Regions from separate parts of the Homo sapiens genome. Here all the other regions are linked to region 1. Evidence: promoter capture Hi-C in 16 types of primary human blood cells and fetal thymus (Javierre and others, 2016). All regions are on one chromosome and are shown on one strand. The core of a region is centred on a gene start or on the middle of the fragment in contact, and the rest is flanking DNA. Distances in the headings are between cores, read along the strand shown. Region 1 holds the start of OSR2 (odd-skipped related transciption factor 2). Region 2 has its middle 2.4 kb from the start of ANKRD46. Region 3 overlaps ANKRD46 (ankyrin repeat domain 46).

The links. Contacts are between HindIII fragments. The CHiCAGO score rates a contact against its expected background, and 5 or more counts as called.
Region 2: a fragment that was not itself captured here is called in contact with the fragment with the promoter of OSR2 in region 1 in 1 of 17 cell types (fetal thymus); the score reaches 7.4 in fetal thymus.
Region 3: a fragment that was not itself captured here is called in contact with the fragment with the promoter of OSR2 in region 1 in 1 of 17 cell types (fetal thymus); the score reaches 6.0 in fetal thymus.

The regions. Positions count from the first base shown.
Region 1 is chr8:98,942,109-98,946,623 of GRCh38, forward strand. OSR2 (odd-skipped related transciption factor 2) reads left to right here and starts at 2,334. Exons shown (of 4, transcript NM_001142462.3): 1 at 2,334-2,715. It overlaps LOC112268016 (collagen alpha-1(I) chain-like), which reads right to left and starts at 502. Exons shown (of 2, transcript XM_047422523.1): 1 at 1-502. The coding sequence starts at 235. It also overlaps a transcript of STK3 not described here. RefSeq lists silencers at 1-240, 2,093-2,452 and enhancers at 2,598-3,098, 3,099-3,599. The HindIII fragment of the contact is 2,241 bases long and covers 1,680-3,920 here.
Region 2 is chr8:100,559,898-100,564,412 of GRCh38, forward strand. No RefSeq gene overlaps it. Among named protein-coding and RNA genes, the nearest start is that of ANKRD46, 2.4 kb to the left of the region's middle. RefSeq lists enhancers at 1-58, 26-165 and a silencer at 1-25. The HindIII fragment of the contact is 870 bases long and covers 1,543-2,412 here.
Region 3 is chr8:100,538,071-100,542,585 of GRCh38, forward strand. The region is part of intron 1 of ANKRD46 (ankyrin repeat domain 46); the gene reads right to left. Among named protein-coding and RNA genes, the nearest start is that of ANKRD46, 19 kb to the right of the region's middle. RefSeq lists an enhancer at 3,832-3,881. The HindIII fragment of the contact is 1,430 bases long and covers 1,911-3,340 here.

The DNA of each region.
Region 1 (4,515 bases), core at 1,084-3,583:
GTGGGCCCCGCAATGCCTGCGCCCTAGACGCCGGCCGGGACGAGGGGCTGGCTGGGTCTGAGCCTGGAGAAACACAAGGGTCAGCCCCCAGTGGGCGCAGAGGTGGCCCAGGAGGGCCCGCGGACGGTGCTGCGCTGCGCTCAGCCTCCGGGCCGCTCCCCGCGTTCGGCGCGCACCTGCCCATCGAGGCGGCAGGGCCAGCAGGCGGCCTAGGCGCGGCCGGGCCACGCGGCATCCCCCAAAGCTGGAGCTCGCCGACTCTTCCCTACCTTTTCAAGAGACCGTAGTCGTGCCCAGAACGCCGGCGTGGCCCAGACTCCATTTTGGAACTTCGCAGGCTGGCGTGGACGAAGTAAACACATTTATGGAAAAACCCCGGGGTTAGGAGGTTTGCGGAAAGAGGGAGCAGCTCGTGGGGTTGGAAATTCTGCCTACCCCTCGGGAAAACCAAACGGTTCTGCACCCAACGTACACATACTTAAGGGCGGGAAAGGTGTGAAGCCCGCTGCTGGGGAGTTGCCTCCCCTTTGATGAAAAGGAAGTGCGAAGCGTAGGAACGCTCTTCAGGTCACCACCCCGTGAGTGGGAGGCTTGGGGAGTCTGAAGGAAGAGAAAGCTCCCTCCAAATCTCCCAAACTGAGAAAAGCTGCAGGAGGAATGAGGCAGTTGGAGAGAGAGGACCGCAGGCATCCCGCAGCTGAGGCTCAGGACTGAGCTCTAAAATGAAAGCACCCCTATGGGACCCACCAGGCAAAACGTTAAAAAAAAAAAAAATCTGAATGCTTAGGCATTCTGCTGCTTCCATTCTGTGTGTCAAATCTACTTTGAAGCAGTTAAGTACTGCAGGATATTAAACACTCGAATCTCCGTTTCAAGCTCACTTTTTAATCTTTGCGAACTTAAAATTGGAAAGACAGAAAAAAAATCTGCGACCCCTGTTATGTTTTACCAAAGGAACGAAAAATTCTCTCCACCTCGGCATAAATAAAATAGAAAGAATTTTATCTTAATAAAATAATATCTGGGAGCTTCTGCTTGACTCCCCAATTACTGCTTAACCTTTTGACAGTTTTTAGCCTCTGCTTGTATTTATCTACTTCCCCGCACGATTGAGATTTTTTGAATTGTCCTTTGGGGCGTCTCATTCAAAACCATCTTTCGACGGAACACTTTTGAATTGTACAGCCTCTTGGTTGAAGATCTACGTCCTCAAAGTGCGGGCTTGCCGTGGAGTAACACAGATCCCCTCTGGCAACTCGTCTGGGACGAAGGGCGTTTTTGCTTAGTGTTGATCACGCAAATCACATCTGAAAAGAAGCTGCTTAAAATGGGTGTGTATCATTCCCTTCCTGTCACTCGGTCACCCCTATTCCAGAGAGGTTGAAGTGCTTTTTGCAGTTACACTCACACAAGACCAAACCTTTAGAAGGACCTGAAAAATGTATCACTGCACTTTGAATTCTATTAACTTTCCTGGAGACTGAACATTGAACTCAATTTTTGCTGGGAATGAAGATGTAAATGTTTTGAAAAACTAGAATCGCATTTTCCTAAATTTTAAAAATGATTGTTCTTCACCAATTCCAGATGGATTCTTTATTCTTTGCCAATGGGTTGCAGATGCCCACTGTTTTAACCAAGTTGGTTTACTGCGTATGAAATGAACATTTGCCGATTAAAGCTTAAATATTGGAAGAAATTTCTCCTGGGGCATTCCACGCGTCTTTGCAATAATTACTAAATTAGTCAATTGCCACCTCTGTAAACAAACTTCGTTTAGAAAACAGCAGGCGAAAGCAGACTACACATGTAGTCATAATTGACCAAAAGTATGTACAAAACTGTTTAAAATTGGGGAAAGAGTGATTTATGCTGGAGAATGCAGTCTAGACCTGAATTATTTTACTTTACGGTGAAGGTAGTTGTATTGAATGTGTTAAGATGTGCAAATTAAGCCGGCGAGCGAACCAAATAAAAATACTAAATGCCCTTTGGGATTCTCTGTGGAGTCTTTGAGAGGCAGAGAAGCAGTTGTTGAGTTTCTAATGGTATAAGGAAAAGTGGCAACGAGAAGAAAGGGGGTGGGTATTGTGTTTGTGTGTGAGTTTTGAACTGAGTCACCTACGGCTGCGTCTCTATAACAGGGAAACCTCGAGCAAACCTGTGCCTTTAAGACTCAGTTGCTATCCAAACAGAAGTAAACAGAGTGGACCATTAGCAGACGCCGGGCGCGGAGGCGGAGCCAGGGCGCTGAGGGCCCCGCGCGGCGGCGGGACGCCCGCCCGAAGGGGAGGCGGGGCCGCTACTAAAGCCCAAGACTCCCGGCCTGGGGCAGCCTGGGGAGGGACGCGGGCGGGGACGGAGCTCGGCGTGCTTGCTGCTGGAGGGTGATGGCCCTGCAAGGCTGTGGGCTCCGACCTCACCGGGAGTCGACAGCGAGAGGTTCGCCGAAGAGCGAGGTTCTGGGCGAGCGCTGAACGCCGGCCCCAAGCACCCCGGGTCTTTACACAGTCCGCGTCCACAGACTCTGACGAAGACGTGGATCTGCTCTCGCTTTAGCTGCTCGCGGTCCTCCAGATCATGTCCGCGACTCCTGCGACTCCGCGCGGAAAAAAAAGTTTGCCAGGCGTGGACTCAATGACCTTTCCAAGCTGTGCGCCTCGCTGCCTGGACCGGGTCTGAGCGCGGCTGCCCAGGTTGACCTTTCTGCGGGAGGTGAGTGTTCGCTCTGGGAAGGGGCTGTAGCTGCCCTTTGGAAGGAAGGGTTTGGGGGTGTAAGAGGCGTTCAGATTCTCGGTCTGGTGTGCCCCAAATTCAGATGTGAAAATAGATCATGGGGATGCAATCCCAGGGCACTGTATTTCTCACTTCCTTGGGTCCCTGGCACGCGACTCCCAGCTAACACCCAACCACACACATTTCTACATACTGTTTCTTAATTTTGTTTTGGGATATTTAATCTAAGCGGTCAGCAAGACTTCTTATAAAAGCTGGTCTACGTACACTGAGATCAAACCCCACAATCCCATGGTGTTTCTGCTCCTGCCCTAGCAAGCCTGGGTCGACTTGTCCCGGGGCAGCCGCGGCAGCGCAGCGTGGACGGGCCCGGACACCCGGTGCCTGCCCAGCCAGCGACGCTGAAGGCACATTTCAAGAGGGAAATAGTTCAGTCCTCGGTAATTTGTCAACCTCGTGCTGGCTTTAAAATTCTCCTCCCACCTTCTAGTCCTGACTGAGGGGGCCCAAAAGCAAACTCCCCGGGGGCTTAAACGCTCGGATTCCTGAGAAACGGCAAGTGAGAAAGGAGTTGCAGTTGTACGAAGAAGGAGCGAGGAAAAGGTGTTTGTGGAGGGAGCCCCGGATCTGTCTTCCTACCTGTTAGCCGAGAACAAAAGGGGGCTGGCGTTTCCCGAAGCGAAAGGGCGCAGACAGCCACTTTCTCTGCTAAACAAACTGCAGTCCTGGGCAGAACAAGAAAATTACTCACGCAGGGGGAGCAAGGGGAGCACAGAGAAACAGAACCTAGATTATGCGGAAGGCATCTTAATTTAATTAACTCCTTGGGAAGGCAGAGGCGCTCTGAAGGGGCAGGAACTTCGCAGCCGTTTCTCTATTCACCTGATACAGTCTGGCCCTAACAATCTGTCCTTTAACAATTTTTTTTCTTTTTAATGATCTTCTTTGATCTACTTAGTCTATAGCTCTCTAATTTATATAAAATTCTGCTGTGGTTTGGGCTGAAATTCAGTGAGCCTACCTATCCGACCATCAGTCATTTATCTCATATACCAGTGCACAGGTTTTAGCAGATGAACCCTGACTGTATATTATTTTTAGATAATTCAGTGTAATATTACCATTACCAAAGAGCGAAACTCCTTATCAAGTTACTTCTTAATTTTTTTCTCCAATGTTTTGAAAGCTTCACTGAACTGAAATAAGTGTGTACACATCTTCCTTGGTGACAGCCAGTCAAGTAAATTTTACAAAATTTCTCCACATGCCTGGAAATTCCTGTGAAGAAGACTGATGAAAGAAAAGTAGCCTCAGCTCCACCAACATATTTATGACTTTTCATTGGTTTAAGTTTCTTTCCTTGCAAGATTAAAAGTAACCAGTGGTCTGAAACGGGACGGTGGAGAAATGACAGCAGATGATGATCGCTGTTATTTCCTGAAAGGGAGTGTGGGAACTACAAGGCTCAGCTCTAGACAAAACGAAAGTACTTTAGGATCTCTGCATTCACTTAAAATACTTCTTTTGACATACATTTCCAGCAACTCAATGGGAGTGTGGAAATTTAACCTTCCTAATTATTTGTGGCAAGAGCCATTGGTGGATATTTAAGGTTGTTCTGTTTGTAAAAGGGTTTCAAAAGGACCAATGGTTTGCTCTTCCTCTATGAAGAAACTATCTGCCCTACAAATTAAAACAAACAGGTACTATGAAATAGCACTTTTTTTTTTTACTAACATGAACCTGAATTATATTAGTCGTTAATTTCTGTATTATAAA
Region 2 (4,515 bases), core at 728-3,227, 1.6 Mb after region 1:
CCGGGAAAGCCTGCTCTGAATTAGGGAAAGCATCAAAACTGTGGCTTCAGAAGAGAAAGACAGCCTAGAAGAGGTTTATCCGATCTGAGTCCGGGAGCATTTTGCACTTTTCACGTCCTATTCTAAATTCACATCCCATCCCCTTAGCTAAATGGGGGCTTCAAAGGCAAGGGCAGTTTCATTAGGTGCTATAAGCATCAATTAATAGTTGCTGGCCTCTAGGTAGGTCTTCTATAGACCCGAAATTGACATATTAGGAATAGCCACTAATGATTGGCTGCACTATTTCTAAAATATAACCCTGCATTTTTACTTTTTTCAAAAGCAGTTTGAATCTTTTTTTTTTTTTTTTTTTTTAGACGGAGTCTCACTCTGTCGCCCAGGCTGGAGTGCAGTTGCTCAACCTCGGCTCACTGCAAACTCCAACTCCGCCTTCCGGGTTCAAGCGATTCGCAGTTTGAATCCTTCCATCCTACTTTGTAGGGTTCCTTGACTTATTGCAACATGTACAGCCAAGACTAACTAAAAGTGTGGTGGGACATTCATATGCTGGAAACATTCTTTCATGCAAAACTAGTTTTTTCTTTTTTTCATTTTACCAACTCCAGTCCTACAGCCAAGACAACTCTCACTGCACAGTGACCGTCCTCTGAATTCTAGCACCCTCATCCAACCAAGCCACGCTCTATGGCAAACTTGTCCAACCCCTGGCCCACACCTGCAGGCTGCATGCAGCCAAGACAGTTTAGAATGCAGCCCAACACAAATTAATAAACTCTCTTAAAACATTATGAGTTTTTTTTTTTTTGCAATTTTTTTTTAGCTCATCAACAATTGCTGGTGTTAGTGTATTTTATGTGTGGCCCAAGACAATTCTTCTTCCAATGTGGCCCAGGGAAGCCAAAAGATTGGACACCCCTGCTCTAGGGTATCTCATGGTTCATTCATTCAAGGACCACCTACACCATCTAATAATTTGTTCTTGAAAGTGTCATGTAAAGGTTTAGGACTATTGTCATATTAGAGGAAATCACTATTACATTTCTTTCATGTAAGAATTATAAGATCTGGCCATGCACGGTGGCTCACACCTGTAATCCCAGCACTTTGGGATGCTGGGGTGGACAGATCACTTGAGGTCAGGAGTTCGAGACCAGCCGGACCAACATGGTGAAACCTTGGCTCTACAAAAATACAAAAATTAGCCAGGCACGGTGTTGCACACCTGTAATCCCAGCTACTCAGGAGGCTGAGGCACAAGAATCCTTGAACCCCAAAAGGCGGAGGTCACAATGAGCCGAGATCTCACCACTGCACTCCAGCCTGGGTGACAGAACAAGACTCCATCTCAAAAAAAAAAAAGTTATAAGATCTTAGGGCATTTCACATTTTATTGTGCTATGACTAATCAGCAATATTACTTGTTAAATTGATGACATTTATTAATCAGTTTGTTATTGATGTCCTCCTTCTGGTTGTGTATTGAGTTTATAATATCTTCACTGATGCCTATAAACTATGACAAATTAGCAAGGAAATTAAAGCTTTTCCCAATGTATTAATAAGATTTACTCTTCATTAGTTGACTCATCCAACAATCTGAGAGCCTCTCCATTACTTCTATTCAAATTTATCTCTTCCTCTTCATGAATTACTGCTTTTGATTGATATGAAAAAATGTAGGGATGGTGAAGACAGCTTTTTTCTCTGATGAGATTAAAGTGAACTGCATGCTGCACATATTCTATGGCTCCTTCATGTTACCACACCTGGGCACTTTGACACAGTGGCTGTTAGGAGCTGATATGGTTTGGCTGTGTCCCTGCCCAAAATCTCATCTTGAATTATAATAATACCCATATGTCAAGGGCAGGACCAGGTGAAGATAATTGAATCATGGGGGCAGTTTCCCCTATGCTGTTCTCATGAGAGCGCGTGAGTTCTCATGAGATCTGATGGTTTTATAAGGGGCTTCTCCTTTTGCTCAGCACTCATTCTGTCTCCTACCACCCTGTCAAGAAGTGCCTTCTGCCATGATTGTAAGTTTCCTAAGGCTGCCCCAGCCATGCAGAATTGTGATTCAACTGTGAGTCAATCACACGTCTTTTCTTATAAATTACTCAGTCTTAGGTGTTTCTTCATAGCAGTGTGAGAATGGACTAATACAGGAGCATTTGCAGAAGCCATTCCTACTCTCCAGCAATAAGTTAATAGTGCATGGAAGTGACCACGAACCACATGAACGTCTCCCATTAAATGCAAACCAAAGTACCCCCAGCTGCATTTCTGTTTAGCTGGATCCCAAAAATGCCTGTAGTCACTCCAATGTTAGCCAGTAGAAGAATACTCCGGAAGTCTCAGTGGAAAGAGAGAAATCTTAATCAATTGTAGGTAAAGTATTTTAATTTTGCAAGCTTTACAAAAACATATAACCATATCAGCACTGCTTCCCAGGGCCTTGGAAGGGGCCTGAACAAGGGAGGGCTATATATTGGTTTCCTATTGTCATTGTAACAAATTACCCTAAATTTAATACTTTAAAACAAGGATTATTTTACAGTTCAAGAGGTGAGAAGTCCAAAATCAGTTTCGCTGAGCTAAAATCAAAGTGCGGGAAGTGCTTTCCTTCTGGAGATTCTCAGGGGAGTTGGTTGCCATGCCTTCTCCAGCTCCTAGAGGCCACCTACGTCCCTGGCTCATGGCTCCTTTTTCCATCCTCAAAGCTAGCAGTGTAGAGCATTTTTACACCCCTCTGACTTCTGCTTCTGTCCTTGCATTTCCTCTGTGACTCTCCTGTCTCCTTATAAGGACCCTTGTGATTATATTGGGCACACTTGGATAATCCAGAATAATCTCCCTATCTCAAGATCTTTCACTTAATCACATTTGCAAAGTTCTTTTTACCATGCAAAGCAACATATTCATAGATTCTGGGGATTAGGATTAGGATGTGGACATCTTTGAGGATCTGTTATCCAGCCTACCACAAGAGCCCTGAAGCTTAAACTTTACACTCTTCAGGTAAGTCTGCCTCTTCTTCCTCATTACTAAAATCTATCTGGTCCTGAGTTTTGATCGTGAGAGTTCCAATGGCGGAGGAATACCTGTAATTACAACCGAGATAAGTGTCATGAAGCGAAAGAGAAAGGATTCCTTGAGGGCAAACAATATGGGAGCTAATTTAGATAGAAGGGCAACAATGTCTTTGAATAAGTGATATTTAATCTAAGATGCAAAGCATGAGGAATTAATTATGTAATGAACAAGGGAAGTATTCTAGACAGAGGAGACGGTATGTTTGGCCTGTGAATCCTGATGGCAGAAAGCTATCACCTTCTGTGGCAGTGTCTCTACCACTGAATCCTTAGCACCACCACGGTGACTGGCACATCAGACATGTTTGGGAATATTAGCTTAGTAGTTTTCAACCTGGCAGCATGTTACAATCATGCAGCAGCTTAAAAAATAACAGTGCCAGCCGGGCGCGGCATCTCACGCCTGTAATCCCAGCACTTTGTGAGGCCGAGGCGGGTGGATCATGAGATCAGGAGTTCAAGACCAGCCTGGCCAAGATGGTGAAACCCCATCCCTACTAAAGATACGAACATTAGCCGGGCGTGGTGGTGGGTGCCTGTAATCCCAGCTACTTGGGAGGCTGAGGCATAGACTTGCTTGAACTTGGGAGCCAGAGGTTGCCATGAGCCAAGATCGTGCCACTGCCCTCCAGCCTGGGCCACAGAGCAAGACTCTGTCTAAAAAAAAAAAAAAAACAGGGCCTGGGCCCTAGCCAAGATCAAGTTAGAATCATCTGGAAGCACGGCCCAGGCATCTGCATTTTTAAAAGCTGCTCAGGGAACTCTAATGTGCAGCCAGGATTGAGTTGAGAATCGCTGTATTAGATACAATTGAGTGAATGAATGAATAAGTGAAAGGAAATATTTGCTTTGGGTAGGCTTTTCATTTAGAAAGTTTTCTTATTAGGGATAAGAAGGGTTTTGACTATATTCGTTATATAAATTCCTATCCAGTCTTAAAAAATGCAGACAGACTTTCAAAAATATTATACTTGAATGCTCATCAGAAGAGACTGAAAGTGATCTAGCAACTATCCCAATGTAACTAGCTGTCTCTGTAGAAAGGCGATATGGTCAGAATGGGGAGGTGTTTGAAAAAAATACACCGCACCTACGAAGTAAGTGTTTTGAGCTCTGCTTTCCTGTTCCAGGGTGCATTTGGTTTCTGTAGTACTGACGAATGACCATGAGAGGGAGACATGCTCCTGACAGGTGTTGCTTCCGTGGGTCTCCCATCTCTCAAGCCCGGCTAGCACGAATCAGGTGTTTTCCACAACACTGTGGGTTCTCAGGCATAACAATGGAATGAGTAAGTACAGGAGATGAGACAAGTAGCACATATTTATCTACACCAAAGTTAGGGTCATTTCCGTTCCCCAACAATTTTAAACATTTAAACAACCAGAAAAAAAAAAATGAAGTGTTTTGTGTGCCGGACATA
Region 3 (4,515 bases), core at 1,376-3,875, 1.6 Mb after region 1:
CTGCAATGCCTGGCACATTAAGTTTCTTGAAGTCTAGACATAGGGAAATCCAATAATTCTTTCCTGAATGTACACTCGATTAAGTTCATTGTCACAAGATTTTAAAGTAATATTTTTTCTTATGACTAGTTCTGCAGTGCATTGTAAAAATTTTTAGGAAATAAATATGAAAAAAAAGAAACTAAAAGCTGCACACAATCAACCATGAATCAAATTAATGATTCAACCAACCATGAATCAAAAATATTTGGGGAAAAAAATTGCATCTATACTGAACACGTATGTACAGACTTTCTTTCTTGTCATTATTCCCTAAACAACACAGTGTAACAACTACTTCCATAGCATTTACATTGTATTAGGTATTATAAGTAACCTAGAGATTATTTAAAGTATATGGAAAGATGTGCATAGGTTATATGCAAATACCATATCATTCTGTACCAGGGACTTGAGCATCTGTGAATTCTGGTATCTGCATGAGGTCCTGAAACCATCCCTCTTCAAACAGGGGTTTGAAGAGGATACTAAGGGAAGAGAAACCCATCCCTCTTCAAACAGAATTACAGGCACTAATAAAAAGTGTGAATAATGAACCAGTAATCTTTCAAGATTCACTGAGGACTGAGTCTGTGCCCCTGTGAATGGATGTGAAACCTAGGTAAACATAATGAAGCCTGCTTGGAGAGGTGGGAAAAGTAGCGGGGAGAGATATGTGATAGTCTGACTCCCCTGAAAGGCACACTGCTCTTAGGAGAGTACCACAGAGAGACAATTTTCTTGTCAGATGCTGTTAAAAGAAACTGGATACTAAGGGATGACTGTATTCTATGTATGTACCATAATTTTACTGAATTCCTTAGCACATTAAAAAAGAATTTGTCCTGTATTTTTCCTATCACATAGATTCAATGATGTTTTTGGCTAACCAAAATGTAAAAAGAATTTTGTGATGCAGATGAAAGCTGTCTAATGTATGGCTGTGGAACCAGTCTCTGACCGGTGAATAGTTTTACTGTGACGTCAATCTTGATGCAATGCTTTCTTTGCTCACTGCAAAACTTCTAAGATTCTGGTTTATGGTTCATCCTAAACTAGGATGGACTTAAGTTCCTTATTTCTCTATTTTTTGGAAAATTGTATTAGAAGGGCCTAGGAAGTAATTTCTCACTGATCATATGGCTAGGGCCCAATTTTTAACCTTTTAGTGATCTGTCCTAAATAAAGATAAAATATGTGAATATTTATTTGGATTCTTTAAAAAAGGAAAAGAGTTGCTCTCTTTCTGTGGGAAGTAAATAAAAGGAGGAACTAAGAACACTATCCTTTTAGGATATCCCAGTACTATGAAGAACATTGGAAAGAAGGAGTTTATAAGCAGAATCTTCTGAATTTTATTTCCAAGGCTCAATAATAACAGAAGTTCAAATTTTTAGCAAATTTTTGGAGCAATTTTTAGGCAGATGTAGCTCTACCACAGACATACATTTTTATTTTATATCCAACTTTGTAGAAAACACACATTTTGTGGTATTTCCAACATTTCAGTCTAATGTGGCTGTGTCTAAAATTCTTAACTTTTTGATGTCTTCAATACAAAGCTATTAGTAACTTCATAATTAAAACTATTAATGCATAAAAATGAGGTTAATTTGAAGTATGTGAATTACACAATAATACTTAAAGACAGGCCACTAGCCAGGTGCAGTGGCTCATACCTATAATCCCAGCACTTTGGGAGGCCAAGGTGGGAGGATTGCTTGAGCCCCGGAGTTCGAGACTAGCCTGGGCAACAATGCAAGACCCTGTCTGTACAAAAAACAAAAAAGGCCAGTTCACTGAGTTAAGTTCATATAATAATTAAAACTCTGTTAATCAGATATTACTTAGTAGATGTTCTTCTGGAATTAAGCTTAATGAAAAGAGAAAAAAGAATTTCCTGTTTGTTATGTCTGGTATTACTATGCAAATAATTGCTTGGCAACATTTGAGATACACAGTATTCTACATTTATTAAGTTATACTGCAGGCACAGTTCTAAGTGTTTTTCCTATAATAACTCATTTAATCCTCATAGAAACCCTACAAGGTACATGCATACTATCACTATACTCATTTCATGAGTAAAAAAAAAAAAGTCACTAAGTTTGTTTCATAAGATTTTTTGTTTAATGAATTAGCTTAGCAAATGTCTTCATCAAACATAAGGGAGAACATTAGTCTAGCATACACATTCCATATAACTCTTTACAATCATTTCATTCAAAGTGAACGTCTTCTTAAACTGTAGAAACAATACCTGGAAATGTCTTTTACTTCACAGAAAATATTCTAGCACACATAAGCCAAATTAACTGTTTTTAATCATCTCATAAAAATAAGTTTTTAAAGTATGGGAAAATAACAATAAAATATTTTTGGAAAAGTCTTCTACTTCACAGGTGACTAAATTCTTAGACTCATCATTCTCAAGTACTTCCTACTGATTGGGATAACAAGAAAACACCTAAATTTTTCTTTCTCCATCAGGAAATCAAAAAACACCAACAACGATTTCTGATATATTTCTGGCAATATTTATATTGCTTAACTATTATTTGTTTGCATTATTAAAGTTTAGTTACAATTCAACTTTTAGAAAAGGTATTGGCTTAAGACAAATCAAAATTAATTGTTCACAAAAGGAATGCTGGTTATTTTGGATATTCTATTTCACATTCTAATATCTTAGTATTTTCCAAAATCTTTACTATGTAATTTTACCATGTTTAAAATTCTTAGCAAGGGACTTCCTCCTCAGGAGGTTTCCAGTTTATAGTCTATCATTACATAATAAAGTTACTTGATTCTTTAAAACTGTTTTTTTCTAGTTGCAACAGCACTTTATTTATATGGCCTAAGGGTGCCACCTTGTGGCCTGCATAGGCTTCAAGTTCAACTTCAGCATCTAGTATGGCATAAGGTGAGAAGTCTGTACCTCCGAAGTTTCTCTGTTCCATTTCAAGTTATTTACCATAATTCTCACTAACTGTGAATTTGTGAAAATCCAAAATTGGGATGAAGTTCAATTTTCCTTTTAAAAAAACTTTTCAAGAAAATTAATAGCAAAAATATGATTCCAGGCCTATTCAGAAATCTAAACCTCATTAAACCCACCTTAGCAGACTTTATATAAAGTGCTACTTAAATGGCATTCTAACTTATTCATTTATTGTGTTGTTTCAAAATATAAGAATTGTGAGTTTTGCAAAATATTCCTTATTTTCTAAATAGTCTACAAAATTTAAACCAGACTTCACCCTAAGTAAGTTTGAAGGTATGAGATTGTATCCTTAGAAGAAGCTTAACTGTAGTAGTCACGTGTCGCTTAATGATGGGGTATGTTCTGAGAACTGCATCGTCTGGTGCTTTCACTGTTATGTGAACAACACAGAGTGTCCTCAGGTGCCTACACAAGCCTAGAGGATATAGCCTACTACATGCCCATGCTATACATGACTATTTCCATAAAATTCTTAGAGCTGGAAGGCCATCCAACATCATTTAACTCAATCTCATTATTTTACAAATAAGGACACTGAGACCAGAAAGGCTGTAACTTTGTTACTTTACATGCTACCGCTCATCCCCACACGTTCTAGTCCTATTCATGATTCACTGTCGAAATACAAAATGCAGTCATACACTGCATAATGACATTTTGGTCAACGACGGACTGCATATATGAAGGTGGTCCCATAAGATTAGAATATTCTTACTATAACTTTTCTATGTTTAGATACACAAATATTTGCCACAGTATTAAAACTGCCTACAGTATTCAGCACAGTAACATGCTGTATAGGGTTGTAGCCTAGGAACAACAGGCCATACCATATGGCCTGGGTGTGCAGTAGGCTCTTGTATCTAGGTTTGGGTAGTAAGTACACTTTGTACACAAACAATGAAATAATCTAATGGTGCATTTCTCAGAAGGATGTACTGCATCCTTCACACAAAACATACATAATGACAGTGGGTGGACAAGGGCCCTCCTCCCTACACTATAAAACCCTGGAGGATCTAGTGGACTTCTTTAAGGTGGGGTCTGCTGTGTGTGAAGCTATGCAAATCACTCTAGTCTACATTTACCATTTGTACATTTATGGCCTAGGTAAAACCTTAAAATTCAGAATTCTTTACGTATCCTTATTACACTCACATCCTACCTCACTCACTCTGACCTCCAGGGGCCCTCATAAATAAGGATATACAACATAAGACAACTGGACAGCAGACTAAGGAGATGCCTTAGTCAAACTGTATTTTTAAAATGGCATGTTTGTAGAACAGACATGAAACGACTGAGAAACGGCAGAATGACTCATATGTGGGGTATTAGATGTATTTCTTCTCTCGCCACTGGAAATGTTGATTTAATGCTGAGACCCTTGGTAGAAAGGGAATAAATAGTCTTATATCTAAGGGAGTTGAGGAGTGTCTGTGGCTTTAAAGGGAATCTGTGGCTCTTTTCCT